3 separate regions of the Homo sapiens genome follow, and regions 2 and 3 are each linked to region 1. Evidence: promoter capture Hi-C in 16 types of primary human blood cells and fetal thymus (Javierre and others, 2016). All regions are on one chromosome and are shown on one strand. The core of a region is centred on a gene start or on the middle of the fragment in contact, and the rest is flanking DNA. Distances in the headings are between cores, read along the strand shown. Region 1 holds the start of DVL1 (dishevelled segment polarity protein 1). Region 2 overlaps C1orf159 (chromosome 1 open reading frame 159). Region 3 overlaps LOC124903820 (a long non-coding RNA gene).

The links. The method cuts DNA at HindIII sites, captures the fragments that hold promoters and counts their contacts. A CHiCAGO score of 5 or more calls a contact.
Region 2: a fragment that was not itself captured here is called in contact with the fragment with the promoter of DVL1 in region 1 in 9 of 17 cell types (activated CD4 T cells, total CD4 T cells, fetal thymus and 6 more); the score reaches 9.9 in activated CD4 T cells.
Region 3: a fragment that was not itself captured here is called in contact with the fragment with the promoter of DVL1 in region 1 in 4 of 17 cell types (M0 macrophages, non-activated CD4 T cells, naive CD4 T cells and 1 more); the score reaches 6.3 in M0 macrophages.

Annotation. Positions count from the first base shown.
Region 1 is chr1:1,346,980-1,351,517 of GRCh38, forward strand. DVL1 (dishevelled segment polarity protein 1) reads right to left here and starts at 2,439. Exons shown (of 15, transcript NM_001330311.2): 1 at 1,917-2,439. The coding sequence starts at 2,086. RefSeq lists enhancers at 142-771, 772-1,401 and silencers at 954-1,130, 2,291-2,470, 2,571-2,890, 2,911-3,060. The HindIII fragment of the contact is 21,682 bases long and covers 1,478-4,538 here.
Region 2 is chr1:1,111,434-1,115,971 of GRCh38, forward strand. The region is part of intron 1 of C1orf159 (chromosome 1 open reading frame 159); the gene reads right to left. Among named protein-coding and RNA genes, the nearest start is that of C1orf159, 2.4 kb to the right of the region's middle. RefSeq lists enhancers at 356-857, 1,076-1,370 and a silencer at 4,347-4,538. The HindIII fragment of the contact is 804 bases long and covers 1,435-2,238 here.
Region 3 is chr1:1,128,905-1,133,442 of GRCh38, forward strand. The region is part of intron 1 of LOC124903820 (a long non-coding RNA gene); the gene reads left to right. It overlaps LOC124903819 (a long non-coding RNA gene), which reads right to left and starts at 80. Exons shown (of 2, transcript XR_007065349.1): 1 at 1-80. The HindIII fragment of the contact is 4,801 bases long and covers 1-4,538 here.

The DNA of each region.
Region 1 (4,538 bases), core at 1,189-3,688:
CTGAGAGGTCTGCGGGTAGAACTCAGGGGAAGGGATGAAGGAAGTAATTGATGAGGGTCCTCCGTAGGCTCCTGAGGCCACCAGCCAGAGGACCAGGGAGGACACAGAGCAAGGCCCCCATCCCAGCCAGAGGACCTGGGAGGCTACAGAGCAAGGCCCTCGTCTTGGACCTCCAGCATCACCCCAGTCCATTCTTTCCAACCCCCACAGCCCAGCCCAGCCCAGCCCTGACCTCTGCAGCCCCACTGACTCCCAGCCCCCTGTAAGTCTGCAGCCTCCAAAGCTGTACACTGAAGCTCCCCTGTCTCTTTCCTGGCCGCATCCCCAAGCCTGCCTCGACACCCAGACCTGCCCACCCTGTTCCCAGGCCCGGGCACCCACGCGTCCTCCAAATGTGCCCAGCAGGTGCAGCCACTGCTAGAAGTGCACTAGGGCAACAGTCAGGCTGTCTCTGCCCTGGGCAGCCCCCGGTGGGTGTCAGGAGCAGAAGGCGGACTCCCCCAGGGCTTCATCCCAGAGCATGGTCCAGGAGCAGAACCTGGGGGCTGGGCACCTCCTCACTACGCATTTCCTGGTGGCACACATTTGCAACAAACAGCATTAGTAACTTTGGTAACTTTCGTTAGAATAATAAACTAAGTCAAAAACAAAAGTACCTGACACATGCCCCATGCTCAAGGCCAAAGCAGCCCAGGCCCAGAGAAGCAGGGACTGCAAGGTGCCCCAGCTGGGGAGGAGCCCGGACCAGACTCAGAAAACAAACCGCCCCCTCCTGCCCAACCTGACCGGAGCGGGCAGGAGGGCCGCTGAGCCGAGTGGGGAGCGCCCAGCCTTCAAAGGCTGCCAAGGACGCACCCTGCCCTCTCTGCTTTGCCTGGTCGTGGGGGTGGGGAAGGAAAGTACAGCTGTCTAGATGTCCCTTGGGCCCCCCTGAGAGCTCCAGAGCGGACCCAGCCTGACTGGACCTGGGGCTGCCTGAGGACCCTGCAACCACAGAATCCAAGAAACAACCTTAATGTCACAATCCCAAGAAGCGGCCACACACAAGGACACCGCTTGCCGGAGGCTCACCTCCTGGGGCCACGAGGCCTGAGCCCGCCCCCAGCACTGTTGAGCTGGGACTAGGGACTCAGGTTACTGGTGGCTGGGCCGGGCCAGGCCAGGCCTCAAGCAGACCGCCAGGCTCCTGCTCCCTGTCCCAGAGGGCCCAGCTCAGCACAGCAGGGGTCTCCTCGCCTGGGACACCACCACCGAGGCCCAGCAGGGAGACGCTGACCCAGGCTGCCCCGAAACAGCAGATGGTCTGGGCTGCTCCGGGAACGCAAGTGCTTTGTGGCTCAGTGGGGACGGGGCCCACAGGAAGCTCAGGACACGGGTAGGCGAATAAAGTTTCATGGTCACCAGTGGCCCTTGACCTCCACCCTGTCACAAGGACCCTGCAGAAGGGGGCCAGGAGAACCTGTCTTGACCCTCGGGAAGCTTCTGCAAACCCTAGCAGACAGGTTGGTGAACCTGTACCCCCATGTCTCCCCATCCCAGCTAGGGAACCCCACCCTGCTTCCTTCCCACTGACACGCCCCTGACCCCAGCCCGCACCAACGGCAGGCGCTCCCGGCCAGCCCCGGTGGAAGCGATGCGGCCGACCGAGTCTGACACGGGCCAAGGCAGGACTCGGGGCCGGGAAGCTGGGGCCAGGGACGCCGGGAACCCCGCCTGCCATCGCCCCGCTCCACGGACAGGTGGGCGCGCGCCGCACACGGGCCGAGGCCGCCACCCGCGCCGCATCTAGCGGAGGCGCGTCGCGGTCGCAGGTCCCCGGGGGCGCGAACGGCTCAGGACCCCCGCCCCGTCCCCGCGCGGGCAGGTGCGACCCCCGAGCCCGCGCCAGGCTCGCGCAGGCCTCGCGGCCGACTGACCCGAAGTCCTGGTCCATGGACTTAAAGAAGAATTTGTAGGCGTGCACGGGCCGGTTGCTGAGCACGTTCTTGAAGTCGGCCAGCGTGACGCGCTCGGGGGCCACGGGCAGCTTGACCAGGTACGGCGTCTCCTCCTCGTCCATGTGGTAGATAATCTTGGTCTCCGCCATGGCGCGGCGGCGGCGCGGAGCCCGCGCGCTCAGGGCCCGGCCCGGGGCTCGGACGCGGGGCGCTACCCGCCCGCCCGCCTGCGCCCCGCCCGGCCCGCACCGCTCTCGGCCCCGACGCTCCGAGGCCCCCGGGCGCCCCCGCCCGACCGCCCAGGCCCCGGCCGCCGCCCCCGGCTCCCGCGCGCGTCCCGACTGCTGCCCCGCGGCCCGCGGCCGCCCATCCGCCCCCGGCCCGGGAGCGGCGCGAGGGACGCAGCACGGAGGGCGCGCTCAGCCCCGCCGCCCTCCCGCCTGCGCCCCTCGGGCCGCGCCGTTAAAGGGACCGCCCGGCCCGGGGTCCTGAGCGTGGCCGCGGGGGGGCGCCCGAGCGCGCGGCGTTGACGTCACGGGGGCGCACGGCGGGGGCGGGGCGAGGATGCGCAGACGCAGGCGATCATCGCTCGCCCCGCCCCGCCCCGGCCCCGCCCCCGCGCGCGGGCCCGCGCTCCATTATGATCCGGCGCATGCGACGCGCGCCGCTGGCTGTGGGCCCGTGGGCGCCGGGGCGCTCGGGTCGGGCGGAGGGACCCCGGGGACGCCGGGTGCGCGGCGCTGAGGTGGCGCCCGGTCGCTCTGCGCCACCGCGAAGGCTCCCGACTCGCGTGCCCTCTGCCGGGTCCCACGGGGTCCAGGCAGCAGGCCGAGCGGATGCGGGGCGCGCGGGGGCGCGGGCGTGCACGGAGGCGTCGGAGCGCCCGGCGGCGGGAGGGATTTAGTCCTGGGGTTCTCCGCAGGGCAGGGGAGACTTCCGAGGCGTCCCTTGAGGCCGCGGGGCGTCCGCGCTTACTGTTCCGGGGCTCGCGGGGCTGGAGGCCTTCCCGACCCGACCCCAGCAGGAAGCGCGGAGGCCACTAGAGGGCGGCCCAGGATGGGAGGAGTGAGGAGGGGGCCTGGACGGGGCAGGAGCGACGGGGGGAGTGAGGAGGGGGCCTGGACGGGGCAGGAGCGACGGGGGGAGTGAGGAGGGGGCCTGGACGGGGCAGGAGCGACGGGGGGAGTGAGGAGGGGGCCTGGACGGGGCAGGAGCGACGGGGGGAGTGAGGAGGGGGCCTGGACGGGGCAGGAGCGACGGGGGGAGTGAGGAGGGGGCCTGGACGGGGCAGGAGCGACGGGGGGAGTGAGGAGGGGGCCTGGACGGGGCAGGAGCGACGGGGGGAGTGAGGAGGGGGCCTGGACGGGGCAGGAGCGACGGGGGGAGTGAGGAGGGGGCCTGGACGGGGCAGGAGCGACGGGGGGAGTGAGGAGGGGGCCTGGACGGGGCTGGAGCGACGGGGGGAGTGAGGAGGGGGCCTGGACCGGGCAGGAGCGACGGGGGGAGTGAGGAGGGGGCCTGGACCGGGCAGGAGCGACGGGGGGAGTGAGGAGGGGGCCTGGACGGGGCAGGAGCGACGGGGGGAGTGAGGAGGGGGCCTGGACGGGGCAGGAGCGACGGGGGGAGTGAGGAGGGGGCCTGGACGGGGCAGGAGCGACGGGGGGAGTGAGGAGGGGGCCTGGACGGGGCAGGAGCGACGGGGGGAGTGAGGAGGGGGCCTGGACGGGGCAGGAGCGACGGGGGGAGTGAGGAGGGGGCCTGGACGGGGCAGGAGCGACGGGGGGAGTGAGGAGGGGGCCTGGACGGGGCAGGAGCGACGGGGGGAGTGAGGAGGGGGCCTGGACGGGGCAGGAGCGACGGGGGGAGTGAGGAGGGGGCCTGGACCGGGCAGGAGCGACGGGGGGAGTGAGGAGGGGGCCTGGACGGGGCAGGAGCGACGGGGGGAGTGAGGAGGGGGCCTGGACGGGGCAGGAGCGACGGGGGGAGTGAGGAGGGGGCCTGGACGGGGCAGGAGCGACGGGGGGAGTGAGGAGGGGGCCTGGACGGGGCAGGAGCGACGGGGGGAGTGAGGAGGGGGCCTGGACCGGGCAGGAGCGACGGGGGGAGTGAGGAGGGGGCCTGGACCGGGCAGGAGCGACGGGGGGAGTGAGGAGGGGGCCTGGACGGGGCAGGAGCGACGGGGGGAGTGAGGAGGGGGCCTGGACGGGGCAGGAGCGACGGGGGGAGTGAGGAGGGGGCCTGGACGGGGCTGGAGCGACGGGGGGAGTGAGGAGGGGGCCTGGACGGGGCAGGAGCGACGGGGGGAGTGAGGAGGGGGCCTGGACGGGGCAGGAGCGACGGGGGGAGTGAGGAGGGGGCCTGGACCGGGCAGGAGCGACGGGGGGAGTGAGGAGGGGGCCTGGACGGGGCAGGAGCGACGGGGGGAGTGAGGAGGGGGCCTGGACGGGGCAGGAGCGACGGGGGGAGTGAGGAGGGGGCCTGGACGGGGCAGGAGCGACGGGGGGAGTGAGGAGGGGGCCTGGACGGGGCTGGAGCGATGGGGAAGAGAGTGCGGTGGGGTCCCTTGGTTCCCGTCCCCAGGAAGCCGGCGAGATGGAACTG
Region 2 (4,538 bases), core at 587-3,086, 240 kb before region 1:
CTGAAGTGAAAGAATCTCTTGAGCCTGGGAGGTCAAGGCTACAGTGAGCCATGATCGCACCACTGCACTCTACCTGGGCGACAGAGCCAGACCCCGTCTCAACAACAACAACAAAGAACTGGTTTCAAGAAAAAAATGATGCCTCAGGTCACTGTGATTTTAAATAAGTAACATCTTGCAAAACAACCCTGTAAAAGCAACCACCGGCTGGGGCAGTGGGTAGACCACACCCACGCTCACCGTAACTCCAGCCGCCCAGGCAGCAGTAACTGAAAAGGGGAGGCGGGAGGGTCCACTGGCGGGTTTCTCACGCTGCTGAACCTCGGTAAACACAGCCCCGAGGGCTGGCTGGAGCTTCCACTGCATCCGTGTAGCTAATGCTGGTCATCTTCGTAGCAAGCAAAGGAAGCCAACGTGAAACGTAGCTTTAAGGGCCCAATAAGAACTGTCTGGGGCCTCTCTACCTAAAGATCCCTCTCGTGCTTTGATAGAAAACAAATACCGCAAACCCCTTGATGGGGTGTAAAGGAGACATCCCCCTTTGTTGACATGCATGGTAGTCGCTGCCCACCTACCCGTGGGCTCAGCACACCGGAGTCGGGCGGTTGCCGTAGGTGGCTCAGCAGACGTGAGCAGGGCAGGATCGGGCCCATCCCCCCACCGGGAATGTCAGGCCACCATCAGGTGATGGTCAGGTGGCTGTTAACTGTCTAAAAGAACTGGTTGCACCCAGCGCCAGGGAAAGACAGGCTCCCAATAGCTAGAAAACACATGAAATCCGGTGATGGGCAGCTTCCCGATACGATCTCAGGAACTGGGCGAGTTGGCTCAAGCGTGTGCACTGAGAGGCAAAATGGCGGCGTGTAACCGTTCTATGACCTTCTAGGGACGTTTGACAGGTAACGGAAGAACGCCTCAGGTGAGCATGGGCACTACTCCAGTGAACACACGGCGCACGGTCCCTCCCTCCAGTGAACACAACGCACACGCTCCCTCCCTCCAGTGAACACACAGCGCATGCTCCCTCCTTCCAGTGAACACACGGCACATGCTACCTCCCTCCAGTGAACACACGGCACATGCTCCCTCCCTCCAGTGAACACAACGCGCACGCTCCCTCCCTCCAGTGAACACACAGCGCATGCTCCCTCCCCCCAGTGAATACACGGGGCATGCTCCCTCCCTCCAGTGAACACACCGGGCATGCTCCCTCCCTCCAGGGAACACATGGCGCATGCTCCCGCCCAAGTACTAGCAAGATGCTGCATGGGTGGACAGCCCACCCTGAAGAAGGATCAGGGGAGAAGGGGTGCAAGACCCCAGAAGCCTGCCAGGCTATAAAACCCCAAGTCAAAAGGTGAAACCGCACACCTGATCTCTCACATCGCCCGTCTGGCCCTCCTCCAAGGGTACTTCCTTTCCTTCCTGCTCTAAAGCTTCTTCAACAACTTTCACTCCTGCTCTAAAACTTGCCTTAGTCGGTGGGGTGCGGTGGCTCACGCCTGTGATCCCAGCACTTTGGGAGGCTGAGGTGGGTGGATCATCTGAGGTTGGGAGTTCGAGACCAGCCTGACCAAAATGCAGAAACCCCTTCTCTACTAAAATACAAAAAATTAGCCGGTTGTGGTGGCAGGCACCTGTAGTCCCAGCTACTCGGGAGGCTGAGGCAGGAGAATGACATGAACCCGGGAGGCAGAGCTTGCAGTGAGCCGAGATTGTGCCACTGCACTCCAGCCTGGGCGACAGAGACAGACTCCATCTCAAAAAAAAAAAAAAAACTTGCCTCAGTCTCTCCTTCAGCCTCATGTCCTTCCATCAAATTCTTTCTTCTGAGGCAGCGAGAATCGAGGCCGCTGCTGACATACTTTGGTGCTGAAACTCAGATACATTCTGCCAGTAATAGAGCTCTGAAGGCTCACCTGAGCTCCACACTCCACCTCGGCACACGCAACCCTCAGCCAGAGTGGTGAGAAGAGGTGGCTCTTTCTTTTCTTTGTGAAACAGGCTGGAGTGCATCGTTGCGATCTCGGCTCACTGCAGTCTCCACCTCCGGGGCTGAAGCGATCCTCCTGCCTCAGTCCCTCGAGTAGCTGGGACTGTTAGTGGCAGAATATGTCCCACTTCTGACACCAAAGCATGTTAGCAGCAGTGAACCTCAATTTTTCCCTCCTCAGAAGAGTTTGATGGACGGGTAGGAGGCAGAAGAGACCTTAGAGCAGGAGCAACAGTTTATGAAGAAGCTTTAGAGCAGGAATGAAAGGAAGTAAAGCGCCCTTGGAAGAAGGCCAGGCAGGAGACCTGAGAGATCAAGTGCGCAGTTTGACCTTTGACTTAGGGTCTTCCACGCTGGAGGCTTCCGGGGTGTTACGTCTCCCGATTCTTCCCTCGGGGTGGGCCGTCCACCCGCACAGCGGCTGCGGGCACTTGGGAGGGAGCATGCACAGAGTTTACTGGAGTTGTGCGCACGCTCCCTCGAGGCCTTTTTTTTTTTTTTTTTTTTTGAGATGGAGTCTCGCTCTGTCACCCAGGCTGCAGTGCAGTGGCGCAATCTCGGCTCACTGCAACCTCCGCCTCCCGAGTTCAAGCGATTCTCCTGCCTCAGCCTCCTGAGTAGCTGGGACCACAGGCGCCCGCCACCATGCCCGGCTAATTTTTGTATTTTTATCAGAGACGGGGTTTCACCATATTCGCCAGGCTGATCTCAAACTCCTGGCCTTCTGATCCGCCCCCCTCCCCCCACGGCCTTGCAAAGTGCTGGGATTACAGGTGTGAGCCACCGCGCACAGCCAGGGCCGCCTTCTCTTACCAGCCAAATGTCCCTGGTAGAGGGGGGCCCCTCTTCTGCCCTGCTCATGTCTGACTAGCTACCTACTGTAACGGGCCACAGGTGCTTGCCCCCATGCCTGGATAATATTTTTTATTTTTTATAGAGACGAGGTCTCCCTATGTTGCCCAGACTGGTCTCAAGCGATCTCCCACCCCAGCACCCACAGCGCTAGCTGTTCTTTAAATGAGCTACCCAGTAAGTCAAAGCTCAGGTGGAGAGCAGCCGCAAGGCAGGGAGCAGCTGGGAGGTATCTCAGGGGTTCCCGGGATGCTGCCTGTGCACCCCAGGGCTGAGGTGACTGCGTGTGGAAACACCTGCCTGACTGGCTTTTAGGAGGAGTACTGGGGGCGGGATGTGTGTCAGGAAAACAACGTTTCTGTATAATTCATAAACATGTATGTTAAAAACAACGTGGCCATGACGGATCCTGGCTGAATGCAAACGGGGAACATAAACCTGAGTAATCAGGCGCATCACTGAACATCCCAGGCGGCCGCCCCTACCCTGGGGCTCAAAACCGGCTCCCTCTGCGAGGGTTTCCCAGGTTAAGCCATCAGGAAACAGGAAGACGCCTAAGAACGATACACTGGACTTTGGGGACTCGGAGGGAAGGGTGGGAGGGGGACAAGGATAAAAAGCTACAAATAGGGTGCAGTGCGTACTGCTCGGGTGATGGGAGCACCAAAATCTCACAAATCACCACTAAAGAGCTTACCCATGTAACCAAGTAACCAAACACCACCTGTACCCCAGTAACTTACGGAAAAATAAAAGAGGAAGACGCAGCTCTGCCTTCTCTGCACACCCTGGTAATACTAAGAAAAATGAAAACCAAAAAAAGGAGGCCAAGTTTGACATCCTGAAATTTAACAGGACGAGGCGGCTAAGAATTCAGCCACAAAATAGTTCCCGGGGAAGAAGCCGCGTTTGCTTTGAAACGCGGTAAGAAATGCCCCCGAACACCTGGGCTTAAATTACACCCAAACTCAATCATCGACTCGCTGCCACCGGAACACGCGCTCCCGAAAAACTGCACCCCGACTAGCCCTCGGCTACTCCAGGTGACAAACGGACAAAAACAAATCCTAAAGCCTCGCGGGAAAAAGACCTGAATCGTGGCCGACTTCTAGGACACCGGGGACCGCGCCGGTGCCCCCACTCCCGGCTGCCGGGAAGGCGAGGCGAACGCGCCCCCTTTCTTCCCCCGGGCGCCCGTCCCATCCCCTCCCCAGGGACCCCCTCCCTGCCCCGAGAACCCCCTCCCCTCCCCAGGTGCCCCCTCTCCCCCAGAGACCCCCTCCCCTCCCCAGGGACCCCCTTCCCTGCCCCGGGAACCCTTCCCCTCCCCAGGGACCCCCCTCCCTCCCCAGGGACCCCCTCCCCTCCCCAGGGACCCCCTTCCCTGCCCCGGGAACCTTTCCCCTCCCCAGGGACCCCCCCTCCCCGCTCCGGGAACCCCCTCCCCTCCTTAGGGACCCCCTCCCCACCCCTCCCCGGGGTCCCCCTGCCCTCCTCAGACGCCCCTTCCCCTCCCCAGGCGTCCCGCTCAGCCCGGGCGCCTTTCCCCCATAGGACCGCGGCCAGGCTCGTTGGGAGGCGGCGACGAGGACGCGGGCCCAGGCGCTGGCGGCTCCTCCGCGCGCCGCACAATGGGGGACGCGCAGGGAACGTCCCTCGGGCCGGGCCAGGGCCGCCGACCTTTGTCTGCCTC
Region 3 (4,538 bases), core at 1,111-3,610, 220 kb before region 1:
CAAGGCCCAGCCCTTAGGGGCCTCCATGGTGTGCTGGGGAGGACCTGGGGGTCCCGCTGGTGAGCCCAGGGCACAGTTGTGGCAGGCGGAGCCCGCGGGGAGGGCAAGGCCTCAGAAGAGGAGGGATTCAGCCGGAGGGCCTTCCCCAGGGCTGGCGGCTTCTGCTATTGGCTGGGGGGTGGTGAGGGTCAGCTGGGGCCTGCAGGGCTGTGCTGGCCAGGTGGGCCGGGCCTGGGGTCCCACAGCCTGAGCGGAGATGCCTGGAGGGGGCCACAGGGTGACCATGTGCCCCCCGGGAGAAGCTGGGGTCTTGGGTCCCCGTGATGATTATGGGTGTCTGGGGGTTCCTGTAGGAAAAGATGGCTGCGAAGGCCCCAGAGTTCCTCGGGGCCTGTGAATGACCCAGCCAGGGGGCCCTCAGAGGGGGAGAGAGACTGAGAAGCCATGATTTACATTTCCTGGCAGAGAGCTCTTGCAGGGAAACCAAATTTATTCCAGTTGACAAGGTGCGTGGGCATTGGGAACAACGTGGGTGGGGGCACAGCCTCCTCTGTCCCGGCCGAAATCCAGTCCTGCAGAGATTTGGAGCACAGAGCATCAGGGCCGCCTGTGAGGCACAGAGCGAATGGGGCACCAGCCTGCCCTCGGCCTCAGACACGGAGAGGCTCCCACGGCACTGAGCCACGCATGGCCACGCGACAGAGGGACAGAATGCCGTGGCCGTGTAGGGGAGCTGCACTCTGCGTGGCCCTGGGATGGGAAAATCCAGGGAAACAGACACTGTTATGGATGTGAGCATCGGCTGCCAGAACGAGAGGAAGCAGAAGAGGGGAAAAGGCCGATTATCGTAGAAGAGTTAGGAAAATCAATCAAAGATACCCCCTTGAGAACAGTTAAGTTCACAGCTGTGAGTTCTGGAAACCTTTATGTTTTAAAAATGATTCCGAGGACTCAGAGGGTAAAGCTCGCACCAACTTAATTTGTTATTGCCTTTTCTATCAAAGTTATGCTTGTGGCCGGACACAGTGGTTCGCATTTGGGAGGTCAAGGCGGGCGGATCACTTGAGGTCAGGAGTTCGAGACAAGCGTGGTCAGCATGATGAAACCCTGTCTCTACTAAAAATACAAAAAAATTAGCTGGATGTGGTGGCGGGCACCTATAATTCCAGCTACTCTGGAGGCTGAGGCAGGACAATCGCTTGCACCTGGAAGGCGGAGGTTGCAGTGAGCTCAGATGGCACCATTGCCCTCCAGCCTGGGCAACAGAGTGAGACTCTGTCTCAAAAAAAAAAAAAAAAAAAAAAAAAAAAAACCAGTTATGCCTGTAGGTTGCTTGAGAGTCAAACACTTCTGCAAGGCTTGGACACATATGATCTTCAGGCCGCGCCGAGGCCACCAGCTCCGTGTGCTGGGAGGCTCCTGTGTTTACTTCCAACGTCACTGGCAAACGGCAGCTTCTCAGCACTCCAGCTTCAGGGTCAGCCCTGAATCTGCCCTGTGGAAGGGGCTGTTTGCCGCCCTCCCACCTCTCGTCCCGCCGTCACGCGCCGCGCCTGGTCTCTGCTGTCACTCTGCTGGGCGCCGGGGACTAGCTTGGTGCCAGGTCCACCGTGGCCGCCTGTTCTCACCCGAACTCTGAGCTGTTTCCCTGAAGTTAATAATCGCCTTTGCTTTTCTTCTTGCTTAGCTTTCTCTGAACTCATTACTAATTCAGCCTCAGACTCTCCCCCATGACTTAAATTCCGGCACGCCAGGTATTTCTGAGGGGCCTCCGGGAGCCTCCTGCCCTGCCCGGGGCTGGTCGGCTCCCTCGGGCCTGGGGCAGGGCTGGCGTCTTGCAGGCTTCGTGGTCCGTGTCACAAAGGTCCCATTGCTTCTCCCCTGGGTGGGATTTTCCCGGGCCCCACACCTCCCCTTTCTTGTCTTCTCAGTGTTTTGGTGGAACAAGCCCCTCGCAGCTCCCCGTGAGGTGCAGGGGGTGGGCCCCCACCACGCCCACAGCTGCAGCTGCCTGTGAAGGGCACAGGGCGGGCCCCCACCAAGGCCTTCGCTTCCCTGCGAGTTGAGAAAACCTCGCCGCAGGGTCCCCGGCTCCCGAGGCTGCTGTGGGTCCGGCAATGGCATCCCAACCCCGGGGCCTTGGTATGGAACCTGTTTCTGCGGGTTTTTTCCTGAAAGTTTTTGGGGCCTTCTTTTTGTCTCCATCTCTGCTGTCCTGTGAAGGTGGATCTTTGTGTGGTTCCGTTTTCATCCCTTTCACGGGGTCCTCAGTGGCTCTTTCTGTCTGGAAATGCCTGAGCTTCGGCTCCAGGAAATGTTCTTGAATTACAATTTTTAAATGATTTTGTTCTTTATCTTTTCTTTTTGTTGTTGCTCTCTCTTTCTCTGGTGAATATTGCTGCAATTTGGAGCAGGTCCTCTAATCACCTTTTCTATCCCATTTTCTTTGCCTTTTCACGTCACGTTCGGGGAACGTCCTGGCTCCGTCCCTTCCAGCGCTTTTCGTTTCTGTCCTCGGAGTCATTCTTTTTAAGACGGAGTCTCGCTCTGTCGCCCAGGCTGGAGTGCAGTGATGTGATCTCGGCTCACTGCAAGCTCCGCCTCCTGGTTCACGCCATTCTCCTGCCTCAGCCTCCCGAGTAGCTGGGACTACAGGTGCCCACCACCATGCCTGGCTAATTTTTTGTATTTTTAGTAGAGACGGGGTTTCACCGTGTCGGCCAGGATGGTCTCGATCTCCTGACCTCATGATCCGCCCGCCTCGGCCTCCCATAGTGCTGGGATGACAGGCGTGAGCCGCCACGCCCGGCCCCTCGGAGTCGTTCTTTCTGTTGCATCCTCATGGTTTTCTGTGGCCACGTGCTTTCGCTCATCTCTTCGAGGACGTTCCTGATAGTTTGTGCCTCTTCTTTTCAAGGCTTCTTCTCCTTGCACAAGACGGTCTGGAGAAAAACCCGCATTTCCTTCCGTCACACTGACCACATTTAACTTAAAATGGGAAGAGAGCAAAACATTCCACAGGCAAAGTCAGGGGACTATTTTAATGACAGAGACACATGGTTGAAATCAATGCTGCACTCTGAGCCCTTAGAAACCGTCGCAAAGGACTCCACGGAAGGGTGGGGGCAGCCCCAGCGAGGTCGTCAGGGAGCAGAGCCCGAGTCATGGGACACAAGGCCGGACCCCTCACCGCCAGGGAAGCGGAGTCACAGGCACGTGGCCCTCTGCGCCCAGGGTCAGGGCACGGGAGGCAGAGCCTGAGACGGGGGTGCCCATGCAGGGTGTGCTGGGGGTGGGGTTGTGGGGCCTCTCAGGGGCAAGGGGCAGGACCGGACAGCAGAGAGATCCCACTCCTGCCTGAGACCCGCCGCCATCGCCGCCGCGAGCCCTGCGTTGGGCATTGGGGCCAGGCACCTGCCAGGAGGGCCTCTTCCGAGGTGGGGTGTCACCTGGGATGTGTCCGCTGGCAAATGGGAGAAACACCAGGGCGGCTGCCGGGGAGGTCGATGTCAGGGAGCCCGTAGCCCTGAGCCCATGTGTGGAGGAAGCCCTTTGTCTGAGGAGCCTGCGGCCGCCTTGGACCCTGGATGCTTGCAGGGAATCTACACAGGGTTGTCAGGTACGACAAGGGTGCCCAGGGCTGAGGAGGGTGCCCATGCGGCCTCCTACAATGCGTATGGGAAGCCGGTGAACGCCCTCCCTCAGGGCTGGCCGGGTGCGTCTGGGGTTGTCCTAGCTCCAGCTGCTGGAACAAAATACCGAGCCTGGGGACTTAAGCAACAGAAATGTATTTTCTCACAGCCTCGGAGGGGGAGGGGAAGGTCCGGTGTCCCAGGGTTGCCGGGCTGGTTCTGCGGAGGCCTCTCCCGCTGCTGCCTTCTCTCAGGCGGCCTCTGCGCAGGTCCGTCCCGTGTCCCTCTGCCCTAACCTCCTCCTGCAACTAGGACACCAGTGGGACCCGGCCAGGGCTCATCCTCACGGCTGCTTCCCACATACTCACCTGTCTCGTAGCCCCTTCTCCACACACGCTCGCGTTGTTGGTACTGAGAGTTTGGATTCTAACCATGAACTCTGGGGGCACAACCTGCCAGAGGGGTCACTGTGTAGCCCGGGGGACCTTGCAATGTCTCATCCTTAAAACCCCAGGAAGAGCAGAGCTCTGCTGCGTGTGCTCGCGGGTTCCGCCTGAGAGCAGGGTGGTTCCGGGCTGTGTGTTCCGCCTGAAAGCTGAGTTTTAGGAGCAAGCAGGAAACACAGAGGAGAAGGACCAGGAACCCTGGGGAGCCCGGGGGAGCTACAGGTGGAGAAAACTGCCCTGAGAGTGGTGGGGAGGGCAGGTCACACCCACCCCAGGGAAGGTCGCTTGGGTTTACGTGGAGACGTTGTTTTGGGGTGGCGGGGCCTGGGTGTCCAGCATCCCTGGTACATCCCTCCTGGTGGGGTCCTGCCAAGGATGACGCTCCGGCTGGGTGGGCACTGCAGTCTCAATGCTCGGGGTCCGGTGTGGGGGGCTCCCGGTGGCTGCACCCCTCGCCCTG